Linked DNA regions of Homo sapiens: region 2 is linked to region 1. The links are contacts of gene promoters, found by promoter capture Hi-C in human tissues and cell types (Jung and others, 2019). All regions are on one chromosome and are shown on one strand. Each heading gives the region's core, a stretch centred on a gene start or on the middle of the fragment in contact. The rest is flanking DNA. Distances are from core to core; before and after follow the strand shown.

Region 1 (5,783 bases), core at 1-2,500:
GGGCCGGGAGACCAGGTGGTAAAGGAGGCCTCAGGCAAAGACAACCCAGTGTCCTGGGATCAGGGAGGCCTGGGGATGGAGCAGCAAGAACATGGTCATCCAGGCTCCCAACGAACCTTTGCTGGAACTGTAGGACACCCACTTTTGCTTTGGAAATCCAACTTCTCTTGTATTCTTCCTGGGTGACCTTGGGCAAGTTACTTAACCTCTCTGATTCTGTTTCTTCCTATGTAAAGTGGGGATAGGAATAGTACCTACCTCATGAGGTTGTTATAGGATTAATAAGAAAATACTCATAAGCATGAAAAAGAGTGCATGTTAGCTATTATTATCCTCTGAGTTTCAGGGAGGAAACTGCCCTCCCTTGGGGCAATGAGGTGATGACAGCAACAACTAAAATGAGAGAACCCCAGTGGGGAGGTGGGAACATCACAGTACTCCCTGCCACCCTTACCAGGTTTGTGATTATTTTAAATAAAACATGCTGTTTCCTGGCCAGGCACAGTGGCTCACATCTGTAATCCCAGAATTTTGGGAGGCCGAGGCAGGAGGATCACCTGAGGCCAGGAGTTCAAGACCAGCCTGAGCAACATGGTGAAACCCCATCTCTACTAAAAATACAAATAATTAGCAGGGCGTGGTGGCAGGCCCTGTAATCCCGGCTACTCAGGAGGCTGAGGCAGGAGAATCGCTTGAACCGGGAGGCAGAGGGTGCAGTGAGCCGAGATCCCACCACCGCACTCTGTCTCTAAAGAATAAAAAAGACATTATTTCCTTACAGCTGTGAGCAGGGGCAGATGCAGAAAAGAAGGTGCTGGGAAAGAGGCCAAGTAAAAGCCACTGGACCTTCTGAAGGAGAAAGTGTGGTTGGCTGGAACCACTAGGCCAAGAAACCAGCCAAGGGTCTGGCTCCGGGTGGCCTTTTTTTTTTTTTTTTTTTTTAAGAGACGGTGTCTCACTATGTTGCCCAGGTTGGTCTTGAACTCCTGGGCTCAAGCAATCCTCCTGCTTCGGCCTCCCAAAGCACTGGAATTAGAGGTGCAAACCACTGCACCAGCCCAGACTGGGCTCCAGAAGCTACCTCTGGGCCCTGTTGCCACCTCTTAGGTGGCTTCTGGAATGGGGGTCTACAGGTGTGAAAGGTCAGCCCCCCTGAGGGAGAGGTGGGGCCCGAGCAGGCTCCTCCCACTGCGGGAGTGCTGGCCTTTCCCCTGCAGGGCTGTGGCTCTGGGACCACTTCCTCTTTCTTCACTCTGAAGCCAAGAGCCGACCTTCTGAGCCCTCAAGAAAGATCAGAACAGATTCATGGGTGATTTAGCCTATCTGTCCCAGGCCAGCGTGGCTGAGTGTGCTGGCTGGAGGCCTCTCTCTCTGCTTCGAGGGTAGCTGAGATCCACCCCGGAAACCGGCAGGATGAAGGGGGCAAGTGAGGAGAAGCTGGCATCTGTGTCCAACCTGGTCACTGTGTTTGAGAATAGCAGGTATGGGCAGCTGGGGTGGGAGGGTCACCATGGTGGGCTGGCAGCCACCCTCCAGCCTTTCTGGCAGCTCTCTCCCTGGGCCCTGCCCCGGACCCTCCTCCTGCAGGGGCAGCCCCGCGTTCCTCGGTCACGGATTCCTTGGAGCATGGGAGAGTGTCGGTGGGACACCAGGAGCCAGGCAGGGGTGAGAGTGCCAGTGTGTGTTGGGAGAGTCCAGACAGGTGTGGTTACGAGCAAGCATGGGCAGACCAAAGCCTGTGTGTGGGCACAGGACCCCACCCAGTGCCTGCCAGCACCTCTCAGAAAAGGTAGCTGATACTCACCAAGAATTTACGCCCTATGATTAGGATAACCATATAATTTATCATTCAGCACACAATTGAAACTGAAAGTAAATGCCAAATAAAATGTGGTGGTTGTGGGGGAGGCATTACAGGTAAAGCTGGGACCGTATGAGGCAAACCAGGATGTACGGGCAGCATCCTGATGGGGTACTCCCTACTCTAAGTTCATGTCCTTACTTATTTAATTTAGTCATCGAACAGCCTAATAGGGGTAGATTCTGTTTCTGTTCCCGTCTTATAGATGAGGAAATGGAGACACAGAGAGGTGAGGATGCCAAGTGCTTTAAGTATCTGGGGCAATGCTGGGGCGTCTGTCTGGAGGGAAAAGGCTGGGCCAGATGCGTGGAGTCATTGGTAGCCCTGGGAGCATGTGTGTTTGTGTGTGTGCGCGTGTGTGTATGTGTGTGTTGTGTGTTATGTGTGGCATCAATCCATTCTGCAGGCATTTCTTAAGCTCAGGACTGTGTTAGGGGCTGTCCCAGGTAGGGTTTTCTGGAAATAGACTCAGACAGAGGTTTGCCTCAGGTGATTTATCAGGGAGAGCTTTTGGGAACAACAGCTGTGGGTGTGAGGGAAGCAGGGCCGGGCAGGGGGAGATGCTGAACTGCAGTGCACCTGCCACAGAGGCCTCAGCCTGTCCCAGGGAGCTCTGGAGCTGGGATGCCTCTCGGTTGTTCCAGCTGAGGAAGAGGGCTGGGTATTTGTATCTCCATGTGGACTGGACAAGAGACTCTGGGTGAGGCAGCTCTCTCTTCCAGAGAGTGATTCCCAGAGAGGGACTCAGCCAATAAATTACCCGGCAGCCCCCAGTACTACCAGTAGCTGGTGGGGATGGTGTGGGGAGGCCTCATTCCTGAAGGAGGGACATGGGTGGCACAGCACAGCATCCTACAGGAACTGTAGAGGATGAAGAAGGGTTTCAGTATTTGGATGCTGAGCTCATCGAATAACTATGATGCAAGGTCATAGACAGTAGATGTCCTAGGAATGGCCCGGATGCTGTATTGAGGGCACTCATGGCAGGCAATGTTTCCTGTAGGCTTCAGGGTGGAGATGGCATAGATGTAGACCTAGAAGTCTTCAACTTCCTGAGCTGGGTGATTCTCCCCTGCCTCTCCCGGGATCTTTGCCAAGCTCGTCCTGTTCAGCACCAAAGACAGCTCTTGGGTGCCGCCTTCCTGGCCCACCACCCCCTTGGGTGTGGGTGGATGGTACCACCTCACTCAACATGCTTGACGTGGACTAGGCACACCTGGGTGGAGCCCCTCAGCATGCTGTGCTCTGCCCAGGCAATAACCCTGGCAGGAGTGGGCAGCCCTTAGACGGGAGTTAGGTCCCAGCAGGCATCAAGAGGGTGAGAGCCACTCCTTACTGAGTGAGGGGACCCATACCAACTGCCTTGGCCTGGGCTTCCTTATGAGGTCTCCAGCACCTCAGCTGATCTGAAACTGAGGGGCAAAGAGGAAACAGAAGCTGGCCAGGGGCCCTAGAACAGAAATGCAGAACCTGAAACCAAATGTAGAACAGAAAGCCTGAGAACCAGCTACGCCCATGAGCTGCAGACCCATGGGCTGAGAAACCAGGGACTGGGGTGCCAGGGAGGGGTGGGAGAGCCTGGGAGTAGCCACACAGCACTAGGTCCCAATGCTTTCGCTGCCACAAACCCAATTGTGTCACTTGGGGCAAGTCACTTTGACTCCGCGGACCTGTTTCTCCTTTACTCAAATGGGGAGGGGCAGGTTAGAGTGAAGGCTCAGGAAGCAGTCGCCTGATTTGAATCCCACCTCTGCCACTTCCGAGCCGCATGTTACTCATCCTGTCCAGACCTCAGTTTCCTTGAGTGCAAAATATGGGTAATGAAAACCTTTCTCACGGAGTTTTGGAGATTTCGTATTTGTTTGGCCTTCCATTTCCTGGCCTGTCTTTCTCATAAGGATGCCTGCCCTGTTCTGTCATCACAAGCCCTTCCACACCAAGGGCAACGTTGGGTGTATTCATCAAGGGTGGGCCCTGTTGTCTAAGGAATTTGACTGGCTTGCAGAACCCAGTACACAGGGTAATAAAGGTGACCTACGAAGGCCCGTCCCTGGGAGAACAGAGCATCTGCTGCTGGGCTGGCTCTCCCTGCTTCTGGACGTGTGGAGGATGTCGATCCCATTGAGAAGCCCCAGCTTTTGCAGGCCTGCTCTCACTTTATATTGTTCTGTGGCTCCTACCTTCCCTTGATGTATAGGTTACTGATGTGGAAACTGAAAACAGAGGTGAGGTCCAAAGGTGAGGATAATCCAGGGGGTACCACTCAAAAACCCCTATATACAGAAAGGATTCCTGGACACTGTGGCTTCATTTTAAACAAGGAAGTATGCAGTTCCCCAGAAAATAAAATATAGTCCACCCTGACTCATTTTGAACACTGAGTTCCCTCCAAGAATGTGTTGGGAGAGAAGTGAAAGTCTTACTCAGCATGTTCCCAAAGAAAGCCAGGCACCCAGGGGCCCCTGCACTGGGGATTTGCACCAGGCAACCCAAATCCACACCAGGGACTTGCTGCTGTTTTCCCTGTTCTCCAGGGAGGAAGCCCTCAGGTCTGTCTCTTCTCCTCAGGACCCCAGAAGCAGCACCCAGAGGCCAGAGGCTAGAGGACGTGCATCACCGCCCTGAGTGCAGGCCTCCCGAGTCCCCAGGACCACGGGAGAAGACGAATGTCGGGGAGGCCGTGGGGTCTGAGCCCAGGACAGTCAGCAGGAGGTACCTGAACTCCCTGAAGAACAAGCTGTCCAGCGAAGCCTGGAGGAAATCTTGCCAGCCTGTGACCCTCTCAGGATCGGGGACGCAGGTGCCTGAGGGCTGAGGTAGAGGTGTGGGGTGCTGGGGTGGGGAGCTCTCCCTGACCTCCCCTCCACACATGCTTTCCTAGCCAGAGCCAGCAGTTCCCCAGGTGGGGGTATGGTGTGATCAGAGGTCAGCTGGGAGCTAGATTTCCCCATGCTTAATGGCCTTTGATTCACTAACTGCCTGCTACGCACCGTGCTGGATTACTTCGCGAGTCCCTCGTGTAGGAGTTTTTTGGACAAGGAAGTTGAAACACAGTTTTAAGGAACTTATTCAAGGCCACACAGCTTGGAACAGTCTCCATCTTGTGAACCTAATACTCTTCTCAGGTGGGGCCTCAGTTTACCCACTGGAGGAGACAACAATCTCAACCTAGAAATAGAGGTCTGAGTGTGAACTGTCCTGCCCTTAGACTAAAGCCCAGTCTGATCTCTTCTGTGGCTTGCAGTTTTCTCATCTGCAGAGTTCAAGGGTTGGCATGCAGATACTGTGCACCCAAATTCCCTGGAGTCACATCCCAGCACGTCTGCTTACTAACTGTGTGTCCTTGGGCAAGTCACTTGAGTCTCTTTGTGCCAGTTTCCTCATTTGTAAAATGGGGATAGTGGTTATAGTAATGCGTCCTGGTTTTCAATCGCTGCTGAACAAACCTATCAAAAATGTAGCGGCTGGCCGGGTGCAGTAACTCACGCCTGTAATCCCAGCACTTTGGGAGGCCGAGGTGGGCAGATCACCTGAGGTCAGGAGTTCAAGACCAGCCTGGCCAACATAGGGAAACACTGTCTCAACTAAAAATACAAAAATTAGTTGGGCATGGTGGTGGGCGCCTGTAATCCCAGCTACTCAGTAGGCTGAGACAGGAGAATCACTTGAATCCAGGAGGAGGAGGTTGCAGTGAGCCGAGATTGCGCCACTCCACTCTAGCCTGGGTGACAGAGCGAGACTCTGTCTCAAAAAAAAAAAAAAAAAATGTAGGGGCTGAATGTAACTGTTTATTGTTTCTCACATTTTGTGAGTTGACTGGGATGCTGCCGGGAGGTTTTTCTACTGGCCTCACTCGGGGGTCTGTGTGATTCTGCTTGGGCTGCCGTAACAAAATGCCCCAGACTTCAACACCAGACATTTA
Region 2 (7,144 bases), core at 2,722-5,221, 300 kb before region 1:
GAATGAGGGAACCAGTAAGATGTTATGACTGGTTCAAAGAGCGTTTGAGAAGCCAGCAATTTGACAGAAAACTATTAGGATAAAATTACGGAGTTCAATTCTTAAAATGGCTAATATCTAACAGGCCATCAATCTTTCAGGCTATCTGTTCTACTAGTAACTTCAGTAATTTTGGGGATTTTCATGAAAGGTAAACAATGTGTTGTGCTAGCATTCTTTTTGCCTCATATCCAAGTTCCAAGTTTCAGATTTCCTCCCTCCCTCCCTCCCTCCCTCCCTTCCTTCCTTCCTTCTCAGCTCGATCTCAGAGGCACGATCTCAGCTCACTGCAAACCTCTGCCTCCCAGGTTCAAGCGATTCTCCTGCTTCAGCCTCCCAAGTAGCTGGGATTACCTGCACCCACTACCACGCCTGGCTAGTTTTTGTATGTTTAGTAGAGACGGGGTTTCACCATGTTGGTCAGGCTGGTCTCGAGCTCCTGACTTCAGGTGATCCACCTGCCTCAGCCTCCCAAAGTGCTGGGATTACAGGCATGAGCCACCGCGCCCGGCCAGATAATTTTTCTGTGATCATAGATAATCTCCAAAATTTTCTTGATGTATAAAAGGCTGCTGTCATTACATTGGCTTATTTCCATAGGAGCAACAAGGATGTAATTAAATGTGAGTCTCTGAATTTGCCCTACAAACAGAGACAGTATTGAGACATTTTAGCTTCTGTCTGGACGCTTTCATACAGAATCTTATGTATGAAATTTGGATTTATGTTGGATTTTTTTTTTTTTTAAGAGATAGGATCTCACTCTGTTACCCAGGATGGAGTGCAGTGGTGCAATCATAGCTCACTGCAACCTCAAGCTCCTGGGCTGAAGCGATTCTCTCACCTCAGGCTCCCAAGTAGCTAGGACTAAAGGCACAGGCCACTACGCCTGGCTGATTCTTAAATTTTTTATAAAGATGAGGTCTTGCTATGTTGCCCAAGCTGTTGTCTAACTTCTGGCCTCAAGCAATCCCCCCACCTCAGGTTTCACACCTGCTGAGATTACAGGTGTGAGCTGCCATGCCCAGGCTGGTTGGACTTTTAAAAATCTGTAGTTTGTTCTATTGAGTGACCAACTGCTCCAGTTTTCCAAGGACTAATGGGGTACCTGGGATGTGGGACTTCGAGTGCTAAAATTGGAAAGTCCTGGGCAAACTAGGATGAGTTGGTTACCCAACTTCTGTCCTAAGGCTAGAAAAGGAATCCCAAGATATTCTCTTCACCAGATGTCACCTGCATCACCTGTAAATTTAAATGGCTTCCTGTCTTCTTGAGGTCCCTGATTTTTCTAAGGTCCCTCTTCTGCCAGGAAGCAATCCCTGTCGTTCCAGGCCAGCTTCCTGGTAGGGTTTTGTAGGAAGTAGCTCCATGAGCATTCCTTATAGTAGGCTTGTCACACCTGATTAAATGAGGACATCCCATAAAAAGACACTCCAGGTAAGGCCTTGATTGCACAATTGATTTATCCAATTATATCTTGATAAAAAAGGAGGACAGATTCTGTTGAACCTGTGCAAATAATTATATTGCCATAGAAAGTAAGGAGAGTCTGTAAAAGTAATTTTTTTTTTTTTTGAGACAGGGTCTTGCTCTTTCACCTAGGCTGGAGTGCAGTGGTGCGATCTTGGCTCATTGCAACCTCCGCCTCCTGGGTTCAAGTGATCCTCTCGCCTCAGCCTCTTGAGTAGCTGGGACTACAGGCCTGCGCCACCATGCCCAGCTGATGTTTTGTATTTTTTATAGAGGCAGGGTTGCGGGTTTCTCCATGTTGCCCGGGCTTAAAATTATTGGTTTCTGAATTGTGAGGGGGTCAGTGAGATTCAGATACCACTTGAAATGTTGAATATCAGTTTACAAAAGTATAATCTGGCAGGGCATGGTGGCTCACGCCTGTAATCTCAGCATTTTGGGAGGCTGAGGTGGGCAGATCACCTGAGATTAGGAGTTCCTGACTAGCCTGACCAACATGGTGAAACCCCGTCTCTACTAAAAATACAAAAATTAGCCAGGCGTGGTGGCTATTTTCTGTATTCCTAGCTACTTGGGAGGCTGTAATGTGTGTCTGTAATCCTAGCTACTTGGGAGGCTGAGGCAGGAAAATCACTTCAACGTGGGAGGCGGAGGCTGCAGTAAGCCGAGATCAAGCCACTGCACTCCAGCCTGGGTGACAGCAGAGTGAGGCTCTGTCTCAAAAAAAAAAAAAAGTATAATCTACTAAACTGAGGGTTAGAGACAGCTCAAGAAGACCAGGAAAGAGCTTCCTTACAGATCTATTAAAGTAGAACAATAAAAAATAATATCAACTATATTGCCCACAAAGAGCCATAACTAGATTTCCTTTGGCTGTTCAATCAACACCATGTAATCAATTATTGTTCTGCCGGATCTTGGGTAAGCTGTCTGCTTTTGGACTCAAAAGAGTTGTAGGAATCCTCAGTCTACTAGCTCAGTCAAAAGGACATCCAGTGTCAGCTTGGAAGCCTACACCCAAGTGAAGCATAAATAGTTCATCGAACCTGGTACAGTCCTTTTTCTCTAGACTTTGAGTGTGTTTTTCTTTGTTGAAGATGCAGTCTGTGGCCTGCAGCTTATAGCAGAGGCTTCAGGCAGGCATTGGAAAGGAGAAACATGTCCAGTAATGACACTGAAAGGCTGTGGTTATGTATTACACTACCTAATAATATCAGAACGGAGGACAGTGGAATTCTCTCCTGGGGTACAATGCACAACTATTTCATAATGGTTTGATCAGTTTTTCCCCTGAAGATAAAAACATACTGCCTGTAATACCAGGACTTTGGGAGGCTGAGGCAGGAGGATCACTTGAGCCCAGAAATTCAAGACCAGTCTGGACAATATGGAGAGATTCCATCCTATAAAAAGGTTTAAAAAATTAGCCAGGTGTGGTGGTGTGCACCTGCAGTCCCAGCTACTTGGGAGGCTAAGGTGGGAAGATTGCTTGAGCCTGGGAGGTCAAGGCTGCAGTGAGCCATGATCACGCCACTGCACACCAGCCTGGGAGGCAGAGTGAGAACCTGTCTCAAGAAAGAAAAAAAAAAAAGAACATATTATAAATAGCAAAATCATTGAAAAATCTCCAGGGCCTTCACATAAAGCATGCAATTTCTGAAATATTGATATTAATAGCATTTTACCTATGAAAATTTAGCCTAGGAAAGCCTGAACATCTCTTCTGATTTGATTGCTCTTCCCATGATGATCTTGTAATAGTGTTGAAGTATTTAAAACATATAGAGAAAGATATCTTAAAATTTTTATTGTATTTTTTTCTAAATTTAGGATCTGATCTTGGGAAGGCAAAATCAAAAGAACGGTTAGAGAAGATTTAGGCACTAGATTAAGACGTCATGGGAGACCAAGAAATATTACTTTGTTATCTATTTAATCGAAGTAATAATAAAATAAAATATTTTGAAATAAACATAGAAGAAGGTAATATGATTACAAGAGTAGATAGCTTTTTTATAAGGGAGATACCTTTGCTTTTTGTTTTTTAAAATAAGATATAATAAGTTCAAAACAAAGCAGAGGAAATGATTCTGGGGAGATAGATAGGGAATCTCTGTTATCTGGGAGGCTTACACAGAAGCTAAACAGTAGCCTCTTTTTAACCCTTGCTAAGAGCTCTAAGACCAATTTATTATTTTAGTAGAGATAAAGATAAATTCTAGTTTTGCTTTAATAGAATATGTGGCCATAAAATTTTCATGAGTTTTTATTATTTCTTTTTACTTATTTTTATTTATTTATTTTTATTTTTATTATTATCATTTGAGACAGTTTCACTCTTGTTGCCCAGGCTGGAGTGCAATGGCGTGATCTTGGCTCACTGCAACCTCTGCCTCCTGGGTTCAAGCGATTCCCCTGCCTCAGCCTCCTGAGTAGCTGGGATTACAGGCGCCTGCCACCACCTCTGGCTATTTTTTTTTATTTTTATTTTTAGTAGAGACGGGTTTCACTATGTTGACCAGGCTGGTCTTGAACTCCTAACCTCAGGTGATCCACCCGCCTCGGCCTCCCAAAGTGCTGGGATTACAGGCATGAGCCACTGTGCCAAGCCTATTTATCATCAATTTTTAAGCCCATTAAAACTGGGCCAAATTTGGCAAAATGTTAATACATTTCATAGCTTATTTTCAGACTCAGGCATTATAAATCAAGGCAAATAAAATTCTCTTTCAGTAAACTTTCTACGACATTCTATATCCATTCAAGTTTTGCCTTTTTATCCTTTTTCATGTTGTAGAATAACCAGACAATTTCACACAACAGTGCATCCCATTTTCCTTGCAGACAAAGTTTTGTTTGTCTGTCGCTATAGCTCCTAGTAAAGCCTCAAGCATCTGTAGTTAATTGAACTGTTGTTGTTGTTGCCGTTGTTTTGAGACAGGGTCTTGCTCTGTTGTCCGGGCTGTAGTGCAGTGGCGCAATCTCAGCTCACTGCAACCTCCGCCTTCTGGGTTCAAGCTATTCTCATGCCTCAGCCACCCAATTAGCTGGAATTACAGACGCCCGCCACCATGCCAGGAGGATTTTTTCTGTTTTTAGTAGAGACAGGGTTTCACCATGTTGGCCAAGCTGGTCTCGAACTCCTGACCTCAAGTGATCCACCTGCCTAGGCCTCCCAAAGTGCTGGGATTACAGGTGTGAGCCACCATGCCCAGCCTGTATTAATTGCACTTTTAACCAGTGTAATTAACCTCTTTCACAGAAAGAACTAAGGGTAAATAATTGAGAACTGTCTTATACAAGCATTTTAGCAGACAAGCAAAGCTCACAAATACACATAAGCCAACTTTCTACAGCCTTGCATATCCCTAACACAACTTTTAAAAAAAGTGGTCAAATATGCAATGCATAACAGAAAATTTATCATTTTAACTATTTTTAAATGTACCATTCAGTGGCATTAAGTACATTCACGATGTTGTACCACCATTTCCCCAGCCATCTCCAAAGCTTCTTTCATCTTGCCAAACTGAAATTCTGCACCCATCGAACAGTAACTCCCATACTTCCCTCTCCCCAACCCCTGGCTATCCCTAGTCTACTTTCTGTCTCTATAACTTTGATTACTCTAGATACCTCATAGAAATGGAATCATACAGTATTTGTCTTTTAGTTACTGGTGTATTTCACATAGCAGAATGTCCTCAAGGTTTATCTGTATCGTAGCATGTGTCCAAATGTTCTTTTTAAAGACCAAATGATATTCCGTTGTACATATACGTCACATTTTGTCTACCCTCTTATCTGTCAGTGAACACTTGGGTTGATTCTTTTGGTGATTGTAAATAATGCTGCTATGAATATGGGCATACAAATATCTGGGTCTTTGCCGCTTTCTTTTGTACAACTTTTTTTTTTTTTTAATTGAGATGGAGTCTCACTCTGTCGTCCAGGCTGGAGTGCAGTGGCATGATCTTGGCTCACTGCAACCTCCGCCTCCTGGGAGTCTCACTCTGTCATCCAGGCTGGAGTGCAGTGGCATGATCTTGGCTCACCGCAACCTCCGCCTCCTGGGATCAAGTGATTCTCCTGCCTCAGCCTCCTGAGTAGAGTAGCTGGGATTACAGGCATGCACCATCACGTGTGGCTAAGTTTTGTGTTTTTAGTAGAGACAGGGTTTCACCATGTTGGCTAGGCTGGTCTTGAACTCCTGACCTCAGGTGATCCACTTGCCTTGGTCTCCCAAAGTGCTAGGATTACAGGCGTGAGTCACCTCGCCCAGACTGCACAACTTTTTAAAGCAGAAAAAAATGAATTCATTTAACATTACCTAAAGATATAGCTACTTTCCAGCATGTGAAAATAAGAAGTAAAAAATATATCAACTTAAAAATATGCCTAGCAATCAATGTTTCAGTATTAAATTTGTTTTAGAAATTATCCAGATAGCCAAAAATTATTTATTAATTGATGTACTTCAATATTAATTCAAAATTTTAAAGTTACCTAAGAATCTTGGAAACTGTGTTTAAGGTGACACACTGGAAGTTATAATTACTGTTGATACAAAATTTATTTGTTAGAGTAATTAATCAATTTAGTGGGGCACAAATTTACATGTTTATAATCTCAAACATATGTAAAGATAAAGTTGACTTATTTGATCCGAAAGTCGAAATGAGAAGTATAGGAAATCTAGATTAACTCGTTTCTTCACAGAAAACAAATATAGATCTTATGAAAAACAGAATGTATACTTGAATTATACTTAACATAAAGCACAGAAAAGACAGATAGCTATTATATGTGTTTTATCAAAACAATTATTAAACCAGTCTAATTTGTTCAAAGAATCATGTTAATTATATGGACCTGGCTCCTGAAAAATTTTCTGAGCTAGCGATTTCTAAGAAGAATTGTTTTAAGTCTAAGTCATTTAAAGCATTCAAATTTCAGTTATTTTCTGTTATTTTTAGGAGAATTAGAGTTATATAATCACTTATTTGTCTCTATAAACCAATCAACACAGAACTCCTTTAAGAGACATAGTACGCTAAGTTATTAATACCTTCCAGATGTACAAAAGTATTTCACACTGACATAAGAGTTAAAGACCTTTCGGGCGTGGTGGTACATTCCTGTAATCCCAGCTACTCGGGAGGCTGAGGCAGGAGAATCACTTGAACCCAGGAAGTGGAGGTTGCAGTGAGCCAAGATTGCGCCACTGCATTCCAGCTTGAGTGACAGAGTAAGACTCCATCTCAAAAAAAAAAAAAAGAGTTAAAGGCCTGTCTATTACAGACATATAGATACACAGACACACAGAGAATGTCTTGCTTCATTTCTACAGTTCCAGCCACAGATCAAAAGTAAACACAGCAGGCTGGGCGTGGTGGCTCATGCCTGTAATCCCAGTACTTTGGGAGGCTGAGGCAGGTGGATCACCTGAGGTCAGGGGTTCGAGACCAGCTTGGCCAACATGGTGAAACCCCATCTCTACTAAAAATACAAAAACTAGCCAGGTGTGGTGGCAGGCACAGGTAATCCCAGCTACTCAAGAGGCTGAGGCAGGAGAATTAGTTGAACTCGGGAGGTGGAGGTTGCAGTGAGCCAAGATTGTGCCACTGCATTCCAG

The links. Contacts are between HindIII fragments. The study calls those that stand out against the background at their distance.
Region 2: a fragment that was not itself captured here is called in contact with the fragment with the promoter of FGD2 in region 1 in 2 of the 25 tissues and cell types used here (aorta and spleen).

What each region holds. Positions count from the first base shown.
Region 1 is chr6:37,004,405-37,010,187 of GRCh38, forward strand. FGD2 (FYVE, RhoGEF and PH domain containing 2) reads left to right here and starts at 1,251. Exons shown (of 16, transcript NM_173558.4): 1 at 1,251-1,481; 2 at 4,430-4,661. The coding sequence starts at 1,414. RefSeq lists a silencer at 849-1,011 and enhancers at 1,267-1,396, 3,217-3,386. The HindIII fragment of the contact is 13,068 bases long and covers 1-1,361 here.
Region 2 is chr6:36,705,131-36,712,274 of GRCh38, forward strand. The region is part of intron 2 of RAB44 (RAB44, member RAS oncogene family); the gene reads left to right. Among named protein-coding and RNA genes, the nearest start is that of RAB44, 11 kb to the left of the region's middle. The HindIII fragment of the contact is 5,627 bases long and covers 1,159-6,785 here.